Linked DNA regions of Homo sapiens: all the other regions are linked to region 1. The links are contacts of gene promoters, found by promoter capture Hi-C in blood cells and fetal thymus (Javierre and others, 2016). All regions are on one chromosome and are shown on one strand. Each heading gives the region's core, a stretch centred on a gene start or on the middle of the fragment in contact. The rest is flanking DNA. Distances are from core to core; before and after follow the strand shown. Region 1 holds the start of PLS1 (plastin 1). Region 2 holds the start of DIPK2A (divergent protein kinase domain 2A). Region 3 overlaps SLC9A9 (solute carrier family 9 member A9).

Evidence for each region. Contacts are between HindIII fragments. The CHiCAGO score rates a contact against its expected background, and 5 or more counts as called.
Region 2: a contact is called between the fragment with the promoter of DIPK2A here and the fragment with the promoter of PLS1 in region 1, in 2 of 17 cell types (fetal thymus and non-activated CD4 T cells). The highest score is 8.0, in fetal thymus.
Region 3: a fragment that was not itself captured here is called in contact with the fragment with the promoter of PLS1 in region 1 in 1 of 17 cell types (naive CD8 T cells); the score reaches 5.6 in naive CD8 T cells.

Annotation. Positions count from the first base shown.
Region 1 is chr3:142,593,616-142,598,421 of GRCh38, reverse strand. It overlaps PLS1 (plastin 1), which reads right to left and starts at 2,029. Exons shown (of 16, transcript NM_001145319.2): 1 at 1,913-2,029. It overlaps PLS1-AS1 (PLS1 antisense RNA 1), which reads left to right. Exons shown (of 4, transcript XR_001740938.2): 4 at 1,125-2,513. RefSeq lists an enhancer at 1,734-1,973. The HindIII fragment of the contact is 10,696 bases long and covers 540-4,806 here.
Region 2 is chr3:143,969,900-143,974,705 of GRCh38, reverse strand. DIPK2A (divergent protein kinase domain 2A) reads right to left here and starts at 2,883. Exons shown (of 3, transcript NM_173552.5): 1 at 1,717-2,883. The coding sequence starts at 2,373. RefSeq lists enhancers at 1,148-1,407, 2,416-2,996, 3,048-3,137, 3,408-3,517, 2,997-3,577 and silencers at 1,558-1,797, 2,288-2,937, 3,268-3,317. The HindIII fragment of the contact is 6,379 bases long and covers 1-4,269 here.
Region 3 is chr3:143,671,327-143,676,132 of GRCh38, reverse strand. The region is part of intron 5 of SLC9A9 (solute carrier family 9 member A9); the gene reads left to right. Among named protein-coding and RNA genes, the nearest start is that of SLC9A9, 170 kb to the left of the region's middle. The HindIII fragment of the contact is 1,912 bases long and covers 1,546-3,457 here.

The DNA of each region.
Region 1 (4,806 bases), core at 780-3,279:
GATACAGCTCTAACATGGCCTTCCCCATATTATAGAACACACATGAAATCTCTTTACAAAACTATACATACTGCACTTCCTTCCCCCACTCCCTCCCACAAACAGGGGCTAAGAATATACTTTGTGCTTAGTGCTGGGTGGGATGTTTAAGTCATAGGCTTTAACCTCCAAGAGCTTACACAACCTGCCAACTTCCTGGTCGGGAAGTTGGGAGGTGCTAAAATACTCAGGATACTATATACAATGGGGATACTAACAGCACAAACAACAGTAGTAAGTGCTATAGGGTTCAGAAGAGGGAGAGCTACTTCATGCTAAGGCAATCAAGGAAGGCTTCCAAAAAGAGGTCACACCTGAGCTACACCTTGCAGCATGAGCAGGACTTCAATACGGAAAGAGGGAGGCAAACAGGCATTTTGGGCAAAGGGCCCAGGTGACTGAGGGAAGGAAGGAGGGCGTTTTCAGGACCAGCAAATTGTTAGGTGGGGCTTCAGTGAAAGGGCACTTTTTGAAAGGAATTTATGAGGTACTAGGAAGCTTAGTAAGAGAAACAACTAATTTTCTGCTTAAGCCAGACTTCATGGTATAAGTAGAAGAGAAAAAGGAAGTTTAATAATGGAGGTAAAGAAGAGTATCTGCAGGGAGTGGTAAAAAGACCCCAGAAAATGAGAAAACCTGGATCCCAGGCCTAGCTTTGCCAATGAGGGGCTTGGGTGGCCACAGCAAGTCATCTAACCTCGCTGGTCTCAGTTTTCTCATTTGTAAACTGAAGCAGCTGAACTGGCTGACCTCAAAGGTCTCTACAGCCAAAACTAGACCAGCTGTATATTATTTCTGCCATTAAAACATTTATCATGGGAGGAATGAAGGGGGGCAGGATACCTGTATTCCCTTTCCATATAGGTTTCTCTTCCTGAACTTAAAATTTCCTCTTCCTAAACTTACTACCTCTCTCTCTATATATATATATGCCTCCACATTACACATTAACACTTTACTATAGAATTTCATTACATAATTCAACTTAAAGGAAAGCTGATTACAAAGGTGGTGGGGGGTGTAAAAGTACTTGCTTCAAGTTCAGTGTGTGCCCCCTGTCCTGAAATTTTGCTTCTGGCTCACAGGTTCTTCAAGAAATTTATGCAGCACAGCTGAAGCCTCATACAAGTGTATCCAACACCGTGGCTGGAGGGAAAGATATCACGGTATAAGCCATAAAATGTGACATAGTAAGTAAGTAAAGGAGGAAAAGTGAGAATTCTGTTACTCATCTAAACGACCGCTTCCTTTTAATAGTACCAAATGAAGACCGAAATACAGTAATAATTGAAAAGTTAGGGAGAAATCTTAAATTTTTTTAAGTCTCCACTTGAAAATGCAGCTGAAACACGGAAAGTTTTTTGGCAGTGAAATTCGCTGAAAACTGACATTTTTATGCCGCATCCAGAGGTCCCTATGCTCCAGGAAAGGTACCAAAAACAGCACGGATGGGATTTCACTACAGCCCTATTGATCCTATGCACCAAAAGGCCAAAGGCAAATAAACCAGTCCCAGAATTAAAACAAAACAGGCTGGTTCAGAAAGCCTCACCGGCAGCCACCCAAAGTTGAAAGAAGAAAACTTAATGAAATACCTTATTTCATTGCATAGAATCACAATTCAGTTAACAGGCTTATTGTTTAAGCAGTGTAAATACGCGATTTAACACCTGCGGGCACTGCCTGCCGGGACTGGGCAGAAGCGTGCCCAGAGGACGGCGGGCGCCACACTGCACAGCCAGGAGACGAGACGCGAGCGAGGGGACCCGGAGATACTGCCCCCGAGCCGCCGCGCGCCCCCAAAGGAGTAACGCTTCGCTTTCCATCTGTCTGTCCAGCCTTCCTTTTGGGCCCTATCCCCACCCCCGCGTACCTGCCGCCACCGCTGTCCTGCCTTCGAGAGGGCAGCTCCCACTGGAGATCCAAGTACCTGCAGGTCCACTCTGCGGCTACCTCTCCGCGCCCGCGTAGCCGCTGCGCTCGCGCCACTGCGCATGCTCGGCCGGCACCCGGGCCCGCAAACTCTGAATCCACTTGCCGCGTTTTGCCTGCGGCTCCCAGGGGAGGGAAAGGGAAGCCCAGAACCTGGGTTTAGGCTAAGGGTGAAAGAGGAGTTGCAGGCGCTGGGAGCGTGGATGGGGAGAGGTGGACGGGCGCTGCGGCAACGTTATCTCTACCGCCCACAGTTACCCAAGTCTAAAGATGACCACCTACACCCTGGGAATGAGTTTAGCACAGCAGTTCTCAAACTTGAGCGTGGATCAGAATCACCTGGAGAGCTTTTTAAATCACAGATCCCAAACCCGGAAACTGAGTTTCCGATTCAGTTAGGTCTGGAGCGTAGCGCGACAGTTCCCATTTCTAACATGTTCTCAGCGAAAACTGGTGCTACTAGTCTGGGTACCACACTTTGGGACCTGCTGGTCAAAAGGAAAGGTATACGTTATTAAAGGAAGACTTGTTTCTCTCCCCTACTCTTTTTTTTTCCGTTTGTTTCACGGATTGCTTCCTTTTCCTTTAACAGCCACACCTGATTAAAATAAATATATAACTAAAGCCCACACTCAAACAAAAGTGGGATATTTTCTCTCGCATGTGAGTCAGGTAAATGGAATGCTGCCTCAAGAGTTCTCACATACTTTGCCTGAAGCATAATCCGTAGTTGTGGTCTGTCCAACTCAGTCCAGAGAACAGAACAAGGTTTTGCTGCCCCTTTAACTCAAAGTCCCACGTGCCCCTTCTGCGCCTAACACAATATCCAATACAGAATAGGCACCCAACCAACCCTGAGATGGTAACAATAGAAAAAATAAAGGGGGGAAGTTGAAATTATTTTAAGAACTCAAACAAATTGGACGAGCAATGAACTATGAAAGTAGGTGGGCCATGGAGAGGGAAGATAAGGAATTTTTCCCACCTGCCACCTAGAGAATCAGGTGAATTTAGTATTCTTATCTGATTTTTCCCACCTGCCACCTAGAGAATCTGGTAAATTTAGTATCCTTATCTGATACTTATTTATCTAGATATGCAAGGGGAGTTAAGTAAGTTCTCACAAAATAAAGCAAAATATTTCCTTAAAAGGTAAACATACATCTAACATATGACCCAGCCATTTCATTCCTAGATGTTATCCAAGAGAAATTAAAACATATGCTTACACAAAAACTTGAACAGGAATGCTCATAGCAGCTGTTTTTCACAAAAGCCCCAAACCAGAAGGAACCCAACTGTCCAACAACATGTAAATGAAAAAACAAATTGTGGTATATTTATACAATGCAATACTACTCAACAATAAAAAAGAAGAAATACTCTCACACAGGACTCAATATGGATAACTCTCAAAATCGGTATGCTGAGTTGAAGAAGCTAGAGACAAAACATATTGTATAATCCCACTTATATGAAGTACAAACTAACCTATAATGACAAAACCCAGATTAGTAATTGCCTGGAGCCAGGAGTGGAGGGAAGGATAAACTGCAAATGAGCAGAAAAAATATTTTTGGAGGGGGACGATGGAAATTTTCTCTGTTTTGATGGTAGTGACAAGTTCACAGGTGTATACAACTGTCATCGCTAAGTTGTACACTTTAAACATGAAAAATGTGTGTAAATTATTCACCAATAAGTTTGATAAGAGAACACTTTTTCATGAAATACTCTTATGATCTGTTTTTTTTTCGTGGTAATATTGACCAGGGCAGGTTCATGAGGAAACGTAGATTCTAAATATGGTATAACCTGATTTGGGAAAGGTAAAATAAAAAGTCATCCTCTGTAAATGAAGCTAAAAATAATGCATATAAAATGTCTGTAACAACCCTCTGTAAAAGCAGCCAACCCTAAGATATGATTTGTAAATATACCATTGATAAAACCGTTTCCCAAAATTGTTTCCAAGTGTAAAATAATAACTAGAGTATATCATTAGAAATGCACAACCAGGGCCCAGTGCAGTAGCTCACGCCTGTAATCCCAGCACGTTGGCAGGCCAAAGTGGGCAGATCACCTAAGGTCAGGAGTTCAAGACCAGCCTGAGCAACATGATGAAACCCCGTCTCTTCTAAAAATACAAAAATTAGCCGGTCGTGGTGGCAAGCGCCTGTAATCCCAGCTACTCAGGTGGTTGAGGCAGGAGAATCTCTTGAACCCAGGAGGCAGAGGTTGCAGTGAGCCAAGATCAAGCCACTACACTCTAACCTGGGCGACAGAGCGAGACTCTGTCTCAGAAAAAAAAAAAAAAGAAATGCACAACCAGCGTGTAATAATTATATAAAGAAAATTGTTACCTGCTTAACTGATTGTATCACTAGCAATGACAAATAAGGTATTCAAACTGTGTTTCCAGGAGCTCTGGGTTTCATGGAGAGAAAAATACGCAGGGCTCTGGATCAAGGACCCTAACCCAGACTGCTTACATATTGTAGTATCTTGTGAAATCTTATTTGATAAAAGGGTTTCACTGATAATTTTGTTTTTTTGAGACTGAGTCTCGCTCTGTTGCCCCGGCTGGAGTTCAGTGGCACGACCTCAGCTCACTGCAACCTCCACCTCCCAGGTTCAAGAGATGCTCCTACCTCAGCCTCCTGAGTAGCTGGGATTACAGGTGCACACCACCACACCTAGTTAATTTTTTTAATTTTAGTAGAGACAGAGTTTCTCCATGTTGGCCAGTCTGGTCTCGAACTCCTGACCTCAGGTGATCCACCCTCCTCGGCCTCTCACAGTGCTGAGATTATAGGTGTGAGCCACCGCACCTGG
Region 2 (4,806 bases), core at 1,634-4,133, 1.4 Mb before region 1:
AAAATCTTTCGGTAGGGACGCCAGCATTTTAAGTACAGTAAATGTATATTACTAAGACAGCTCCTTGCTAAATTTCTGGGTCTCAGAGAATTTGTCCGGGTATCTACTTCAGCAAAATGCTAACACGATCTCCAAGAACCAACCTTGCTAATACAAACAAGGTTCTCTTTTAAAGATAGCTTAATGAGAAACTTCAGTTCAAGTGTATGTACATCATAAATACAGGCTAAACCTTTAGAGACTGACTAGTTTGGGAACTACTGAATAAAGAAAATTTCTTCAAGGAAAGTTTAACCAGTTTTATGCATCCATTCAGTTAGGTGATACAGCAGTATTTAAAACACACTCTGACTTTAAAATTAACCCAATACACATAGCCTCTGATGTCCTAAAATTTACTAAGACCCACACTAAAGTTTCATCTGAAGCCAAATATTTGTGTTACATTATTTGGCTGAACTAATCAAACGAAGCTGGTTTCTTTTAAAGCTAAAATGGGCAGTGTAGAGCTTGAGAAAAGAAAATAATATAAAGAAATCTGCACTTTCCTATTCATGCATTTTAGAAAAATAAAAAAAAAAAAAACCCTGTACCTCCAGCCCTCAGTGACAGCAACCCAGAAAGAATGTGAAGTATACCAAAATTACTTGTGAACTTTTAAGTCATTTTTTTCTCTTGTCATGGAAAGGAGCACGGTAACTTTTCCTGCAGACAGAAGGAGAAACCACAACCCCACAGTTGTAATCACTGTTCAAGGACACCGCACTGAAGCTGGGTGGGAATGTGCAGAAACAAGCAAATACTCCGAAAGTAAACAGTGTTTTTGTTTTTTGTTCTCTTTTTGATGTCACCAGTAAAGATTCCATCCTATTCCCCTAAAAGGCACATTACTTTTCAAAACAGTCAGACGAGAGCAAACAACGCAACTGGCGAAAGGCAAGAATCTCCTTCCCTGATACTCGCCCTGGCCTAATATTTCATCTCCCTTCAACTAGATTACCAGATGAATAGGGCAGGTCACAGGATCAGGATGAAAACGTCTGTCTGGCCTTAAGCCCTCCCAGCCCCAAGTCCAACGCTGCCTTACTTTTCCTGTTTCTGATTCTAATCCCACCCAAAGCTCGGCTCACAGATTAAACCCACCCCGACCACTGTCCCGTTCTCCGACTTCATCCTCCCCAACTTGTCCTCGAATTAGGTGTCCAAATGACTGCCAGGTAAATGAGCGAAAACAAAGACTCTGAGACCGAAGTTAGGCCAGCCACCAGCGCCAGAAAAGGAAGAGCGAACGCGGTGTAGAACACTTCAGAAGAACTAGGAAAGGTCCAAGGGCTCGTGAACAGTCTGCGCCGCGGACCTGCAAGCCCCGGCAGATAAAAGCAGAAAGGCAGGGTAGAGAGCGGAAGGAAACTCGCAGTAGAGACATTTTGGGGAGTGTTAAGAGACGCACTCCCTCTGGCGTTGAAAGATCCACAGTCAAATCCGAAATGCGCCCGAATCTAGGTAACAAGAGCAGACTCTCCATCAGCGGGGTCGCCCTCGGCCTCCCTGCACAGCCCCGGGGCTCCCCCGGAGACGCCCCTTCCCACGCCTGCAGCCTGGCCCAGCCCGGCCGAGTCCGAACTGGCGGCAAGCGCTGGCTGAGCCACTTCTCCCGACTCTGATTCCCACGCGCGGCCCCTCCCAGGACGCCCCCTGCCCTGGCTCCGCGCCTACCTGTAGCACCAGCGGCTCGGGGTTGAAGGCCAGGGTCAGCAGCAGCTGCATGCGCTCCGAGTCCTTGAGGTTGCGAAGCAGGAAGCTGCCCGAGTCCTTGGTCTCCGCGTAGCGGCGCACCAGGCGGTCGAGAAGGCGCTGCGAGGGGCAGTGCACCAGGTCCGACCAGCCCTCCACCGCCTCGGGCGTGAGCAGACGCACGTCGCCGTTGAGGCGCGCGAACTCGGTCCGGGGCATGGCCTGCAGCAGGTCGCAGCGGGGCCGGCCGGTGGCCCGCTTGCAGATGCTCTGGTCGAGCTGCGCCAGCTCGCGCTGCGAGCCGAGGCGCTTGAGCACCACTCGGCGGCGGCCGCCCTCGCGGGGCTCGCCGTACTGCGCGAAGTACACGTTCTTCACGTTGAGGAAGTCCAGCAGGCGCAAGCGGCCCCACGCCTCGAATACCACCTGCCCGTTGAGGAAGCGGCGGCACCAGCTCGTGCCGAAGCACGCCGGGCACTTATTGAGCTGCAGGAAGCGCCGGTCGGTCAGTTCGTTGCGCTGCCAAGAGGCGAGCAGCGACGGCGAGTGCAGCACCATCAGCACCAACAGGCTGCCCAGCGCCGCCAGCTTCAGCGAGCGGGACAGGCGGCCCAGCTTCGGGGGCACCAGGCGCCACATACCGCCCGCCCGCCCGCAACGGGAGGGCGAGGGCACCCCCGGGGCGCCCCCGCCGCGCCAAGACCCGGAGAGCTACCGGCAGGAACCCCGGGCGAGAGAAGGAGCTAGCGCGCGGGCTGGGGCGGAGGGCGGAGTAGGTGTGTGAGAGAGGAAGACGGGGAGCGGGAAGGCGCGGGCCTGAGCGGGCTGCGACTTCTCCCAGTCACTAGTCTCCACAACTCTCGAGCTCCCTCCTCCTAGCTCCCCGCCCTCCGACTCCGGCGGCGCCTCCTCCACGCCAGCCAAGTTATAGAGGAGCGGGAGGGGGAGGGAGCGCGGGGACCCGACGGTCGCGCGCCCGTGCCCGCGCGCACGCGCACTGCTGGCTTCGCACAAGAGCTGCGGCGGCAGCCAGCCACGACAAGTGGGGTCTGCGAGGAAAGGAGGGACTCACGGAAGGGGAAGAGGAGCTAGGATGTCTCACACCCACAAGCAGCAACGCACGTCTCAGAGCCGCACACCCTTGCTTGTGCGCGCTGGCTCTCCTGAGACCAAGAAGGGGAGCCGGGGGCGGGGCCAGAGGGGCGGAGCGAGCGCGTCGCGCGCCGCCCGGAAAGCGTAAGCGGGAGCTCGCGGGAGCGGGTGTGGGGGCGGTTCAGAGAGGGGGAAGCTCGGGCTCTTGAGGTGGGGGCATGAACTCGCGGTTTCTGGTTTCAGAAAGAGTCTTAATTACAGTCATCTTTTATGATTATTGTGGTTTACTGGTGCGTTCCTTTCACTATTGTGGAAACGGCCCTTTAAGGGAGGAGGGAATAAGAAGAAATGAACTGAGGAAGTCTATTGCAAATCCTTCCCTCTGGACGGCGCGCGAGGCGGAGGCAGAGCTGGCGCGATTGCCTCCCCTCGCCTTATATGGGTTGGGTGCGCGCCTGGGGGGTGGGGCGAGGCCGGGGAGTGCCCGACGGGGGCTTGTGTTCCCCTCAGCTCGTGCTCCTCGCGGTAGGGGGTGGGGCCTGTGAGGAAGACGGTGAGAAAGGCTCGAGTAGTGGCGGGTTTGTTGGAGCTTCATCTTTGGGGTTGTATCTGTAAAATCATTTAAAATTTTCTTGAGTGAGCACAAAATAAAGTTCTCAAGCCACCGTGTTAAAGGGAAAATAGGATGAAGGGGAACCGACGCGGCCTGGTGTCGCCAGGACGTCTGCCCCAAGCGCCGCGAAGAAGCCGGGAAGAGTTTGCCAGGCTTGCCTCTGCTGCCCGCCGGCTGCCCTAGCCCGTCCCCGGAGCCCTGCGGTTCCTCTCCGCAAAGCTGATTTCCCGGTGCCGCCCCTGAGGGTCCCTGAGGAGCGGGCCGCGAAGCGTTGCCCTGGCGGTAGCCATGGGGACCCGGGGCTGCTTGGTGCTCCGCACGGTCACGTTGACTCAGTCACCCCAGACTGCAAAAGTAAGGCGCAGATGCCGCACGAAAGCACTGTGTTTAGGGATAAGTTTCAGGGGACCCGGACTGTTTAGCAGTAGCGCTAGTAGATACATTATTATGCTATTCACTTTTAGTGCTAGAGTAGTTAAAATGAGAAGTGATTTTTAGTCTGAGGGACAGGTGGTTCCTGATACGTTATTAAACAACTGAGTCTTAACTGAGTTAATTTTAGGGCTTGAACAGTGCTTTTAGAAGACCATGGTAACTGGCATGTGTAGATCAACTCTACAGCGGGTTAATAAGAAACATCTATACCAGGTTATCAAAAGTAACAATACTTTCAGTATTGTTTAATTGTAACAGGTATTTGTTACAAATTCTTATAAGAACTCAGATTTTGAAAAAAAAACTTTGAGAAATTTAATAAATTCAAAATAGACGTGATTTTGTAACGATTTGCATTGAATACGGACAGACAAATTGAAATAATATTCAAAGCTTTCTAGAAATTGACTTACTGTACTTAAGTTTGGCTACTTCTGCCTAGTGCCTTATGCCGCCTTTGGTGGGAATTTTATTTAACTTGCTTTCAAATATCCCCAAACTCCATATAATATAGAGTTAAAAGCTCAAGTGAGATTTTCTTAGGAAAAGGAGTTTGGTGTGATGGTTCTGGAGACCTGTGCTGTAGTTCAGCTGTGAGGCTGCTGCTGCTGCTGAATTGTAAACAAAGCAAGTTATTACTTAACTACAAATTTCTTCTTTCTGACATCTTTTCTATATGCCTCATAAATTTGTTCGATTAATAGTAGACAATCTATTTAGAATTGGTTTAAAACAATAAAAGTACTACATAAGTTGCCATTAAACTGATTAAGCTGAGAGAACCGGGGCATAGTGAGACTATTTAGGTAACTAGTAACAGGATTAAGGAGGTACCTGTACTGCTTCTTTGTATCGAATAGGTCTTTGGAGTTCTTAAACTATTCTCAGCCTCCAGATGCTTGGAATTGTATAGGCATCATTTGAAACATGGA
Region 3 (4,806 bases), core at 1,252-3,751, 1.1 Mb before region 1:
TCATAGAAGTGTGAACCCTATTGTGAACTGCGCATGCGAGGGATCTAGGTTGTGTGCTCCTCATGAGAATCTAATGCCTGATGAGCTGAGGTGGAAGTTTCATTCCGAAACCATCCCCACCTCGCCCTCCTCCCCATCCCCCACGAGAAACCTGTCCCTGGTGCCAAAAACATTGAGGACCTCTGTACTGCGTTGTAAAATTGGGTTACTTGGGGAGAGAGGAGATATGAGTTTAAGAGAGGAAGAGGTGGAAAAAAGAGAGACATACCAAAAAGGAAAAGAAAAAAGACTATTAAAGCAAACGACTAAACAAAGAGTATGCATATTATGATCATATTTATGGATTTATGTGGAAACACATCTGTACACTTGAAAACTTCAAAATTTCATAAAAATGAGAAAATAACCAATCATTTTTATATGATATTAGTAAATCACTCTGAAGTATAATGAGAAAATCTTAAAGGAAAATCTTCAAACTCAGTATGATATTGTGTCTGCCGTGAAGTGAAAAAAGAAATGAAAATCAATGACTTCTCATATTACATGTAAGTCACACATCTCTGCTTGCTCCAGTAGCTAAAGTGTGCTAAGAATCCCAAGTGCTTGATGAAGCCCTGAGCCCTCGTTGTTGGCTTTCATAAGGAGACTACTACTGGCTCATGTTAATTGAATTTAGAAAATTTACTGTGGATTATCCTGTCTGGTGCCTAAATTAAATGCATGGATGATAATTCATTTACTGAAATTAGAAGCCAGGAGGAATATAGATACAAAGTCAAAGTCTCTGTTTAGCTAATGTTTTGCCCAACCAGCCTGCACTTGACAAGTGTCATAGCACTATGCTATTTTTATTATTGGGAGTTAGGAGACCTCAGGTCTAGTTCAATCCCTGTTACTATGCACAAGGCATATTTCTGATGTGCAGGGAAAATTCAAGGTGGCCACTTAAGCTTTCTAGGCCTTATTTGCCTAATATATTCCTAGAGGAATTAGATGATTTTTAAGATTACTTCTTGCTCTATATTAGTAGGTTCTCCAATGTGAGTGAACGTAAAACTCACTTGGAGAGTCTGAAAGTACTAATTAGGGGGTTCTGCCTCCTGAAATTCTGATTCCGTAGGTCCAGGGTCAAGTCCAACACCCCATTTCTAACAAGTGTCTCGTTGATGCTAGTAGCACTAGTCCACAGCCCCGATGAATATAAAAACTGAATGAAATATTTGCTTTTCTGAGTAAATGTCAAGAATTATTGAGATGAAGGAGGCTTGGAACTGATATTTTTAATCTGAAATAGATATCATTTATTGCACTGGTAGAACCTGTATGTAATTTCAAGGGTGCACATCTTACCTTTTATTATAATTATAATAAACTTCCCTTATCATATAGTTCCTCCTCAGAGAATGTGAACTGCAGGAGTCCTAGTTCCCAGTAGAAAGTGCTGTTAGAAAACCTCTGAGATTTCTACCTCTGGGAGTAGTATCCTCTTGAGATGCCACCAGCTCTGATGTCTCTTGTTTGTCTCCCTTGCCCAAATAAGCTTTCCTAGCATGTACTACCTAAAATCACGGCTAGGTGTCGCTCTAATTCTGGGGCGCACCGGTTTCAAGGGGAAGTGTGAACCAGGGCGCTGGCACTGCTCGTGTGTTTATGGGTGAAAGCATCTAAGAGAGGCCCTGTGAAATTGCCTGCATAAAAGGATCACAGTTAGGGATGTCTCATAAACTAATCCCAAGAGGAGCCTTCCACTAAAAATAAAATAAGCACGTAATAAGGGTAGAAAAATTTCCTAAAAATGAGGTTGGGATTGGTGGTCAGAGCGTCCTGGATATCAAAAGTGTCAGTTCATTAAGGCAAGATTAGTGTCATGGGTGAATGGAGCATCACAGTTTAATGCTTTAACTTATTGGAACCTCACTTTCCACTTCCTTAAAATAGAGACTATCAAAACAAAACAAAACAGAAAGTACCTTCCATTTCTTCAAAGAATTTTTGTCAGATCAAATGAAGAGCTGTATGGAAAATTATGTGTAAATTGCTAAGTGTTTTAAAACACATTTTTATTAGCAGTGAATTCTTCTCAGGCACTTTATTGGATTTTTAGATAACACTATCATGATATTCCTATTTATTCCTGAACATAAAATTTCCAGATACCATTTTCTTCCTACATGACCATAATTAAAGAATTTGTTTTCTTATGTTTTCATTACTTGTCCATCCACTTCCACGGTAAATCTCAAATGTAAAGAGACTAAAAAGAAAAAATTAATAAAATTATATTTATCCTCATGTGGAATTTCTGCTTTTTGTAATAGCTACTATACACTTAAATATTTAAAATTTAGAATATTTTCTCCATGTTTCCAGATGCTGCCCCCCTAGACATATTGAACATTAGGAAATGTTGTCAGAAAGTCTTTTCTACTAGTCTCTGTTTTGGATTATCTAGATCATAGTTCCTCTGATAGAATAATCAATATTATTAATATTATTAATTAACAATATAATTAATAAGTATGGTCTTGCTGGCCTTTTATGCCCTGCCCTCCCACCCTTCCCTACTCCATCCTACCCCAACCATAAATTATAAAGCCAAATACAGATTTGTATTTGGATTGGTATTTCACTGATATTTCAAACCAGTTCCACTCCTTCTCTAATTAAATGTGCATTTTCTTTGTGATTTGACTGCCAGTCTACACCCTAAGTCACCATCTATACCTTATTGCAGGTAATTCGTGTCGACAATCATCACTAACCATAGCCATCCTCTCACTGAGTGCATGGACACAGAATATGCCTTCTCGTCCAGCTTCTCATCCTGCAGGGCTCCTATGGGTGGGGTTTTCCCTGTATGAATTCTCCAACTTGGCAAAATGATGATTACTGTCCCCTCGCCATAATCAGATAGAAGCACTGGAGAAATGTATAGCATTGAGTTTTCATCTTTTCTATTATTAACACTTTGAGGAAATAAGAGTCTTCCAAAATGAAAGGCATTTCTATACACTGTACTTGCAAGTCATTATTTTCATTTAACATTTAAGTAGTAGGAATAAAAGCCACCTTTATCCTTTAAAGTTTGCTGTAGTGTAACTATTGCAGAGGCACATGAACTATCTTACCTTTGATGGTGTTGATAATCTGAAGCCCCTTTCTATTTGGGGTTACTATGGTTACGGCTGCTCAGGTGATGTGTGAGCTGCACTGCTGTTTTGATAAAAATAGGTATTAACTACCAGTCATAGTGCTTTTCATTTCATAGCAGTTCTTGTAGAAGCACAGCATATTTTTTAAAGGTTGGGGGGAGAAATGCCTTTTCAAAGACTTATGTGGGAACATCTGCATAAATAATGGTGATTGGTCATGTGTATAAAAATATTTTTAATTAAATTCATTTTAATTAAACAGGGCATTTTGCTGAATCCTTCTCTGTTATTTGCACCAAGCTTAGCCTTGAGGAAGATGGCTGATTAACAGACCCAAGAACCTATAATTAAAAGCAGGACTGTTATTTTTGGAGAAAAGCCTCTTCAGTAAGGATGACTTAATTGGGCTGTCTCTCATATTTTTCATTCATCGTGGAACTCCAGGTTTAAATATTTAATTTTTCTAACACCGGAGAAAGATTACTCACATTGGCATAATCAGAAAAGTTTTTATTTTTCAGTTTTGTTTTCCTTCAGTTTCTCTGATCATGCTCTCTAATCACTGTTGTGTTTCAATATTTAATTGTGTTCTTCATTGATTTCTTTTGTTTGGATCACATCTTTTTAAAATCATGGATATTGTTCTTTTTCACCTTCTGGCCCTCTCTGCCTCTGCATTTAGTTTTAGCCTATATTACACTTGTGGTTTCTCATCACTGGTGTTATCAATATTCTACACAAGAATTCAAGAGAAAACGGAATAATTTTCTATTCACAGACAAAAAAAAAATTTAAGATGTAATTGACAAAGTAGTTCCTTCAGTACCAGGGCTGGCTTAGAGAACAAAGACAACATTCATTTAATATCGGCTAAGCAGGAAGAGATCAAGATGGTTTTATGCCATATTATAAACAGCAAAAAATGCTCTCATATAGTATAAAGTTTGTGTTCCTGAATTATTTGCTCTGTCATCTATAAAGAAAGTTGGATGACTCTACTTTTAGCATCTAATATTTGGTAGAGAAAGATTGCATTGGTATTGCTGTGAGAGAACAGAAGCAGTAAGAGATATTCATATGTTTTCATTGAATTCCAAGGGGGGAGAAATTACACCTCAGAGGGAGTCAGAGGATGTTAGACCAGAGTACCTCCCACTGAAGCCAGCAGGCTTCTAGAGAGCACAGACGTATCAGCCATTTTTACTATGCAATCTGCATTTCAAACCTGCACACAGTGTCATTTAACAGTACTTGGCTGTATTTTCTGTGTCTTTACAATTCAGTGTTAAGCACAATGGAATAGCATCAGTTTAAAACCCTCTACATAAACCTATGTCTGTAAAACTCCATCATATAAACCTCAATTCTATTCTTGAGCAAATTTACTCAGAAATAAAAATAACAGCTTTGATTTATATTGTTTGACTCTTTCAAAGAGCTCAAAGAGCTTCTACAGACAGTATTTCAGTTATTTTCACATTGTGTTCTTGGGTAGAGAAGACCCATTTCTTAGGTGAAATAATTGAGGTGCAGCAAATTTTAAGATTATCTCAAGGTTTCACGGCAAGTTAATGAAATATAGGTATGGAAGCTAGGAATTCTGTTTCCTTAGATTTCTAGACTGTGTTTTTGCTAGATACTAAACACTAAC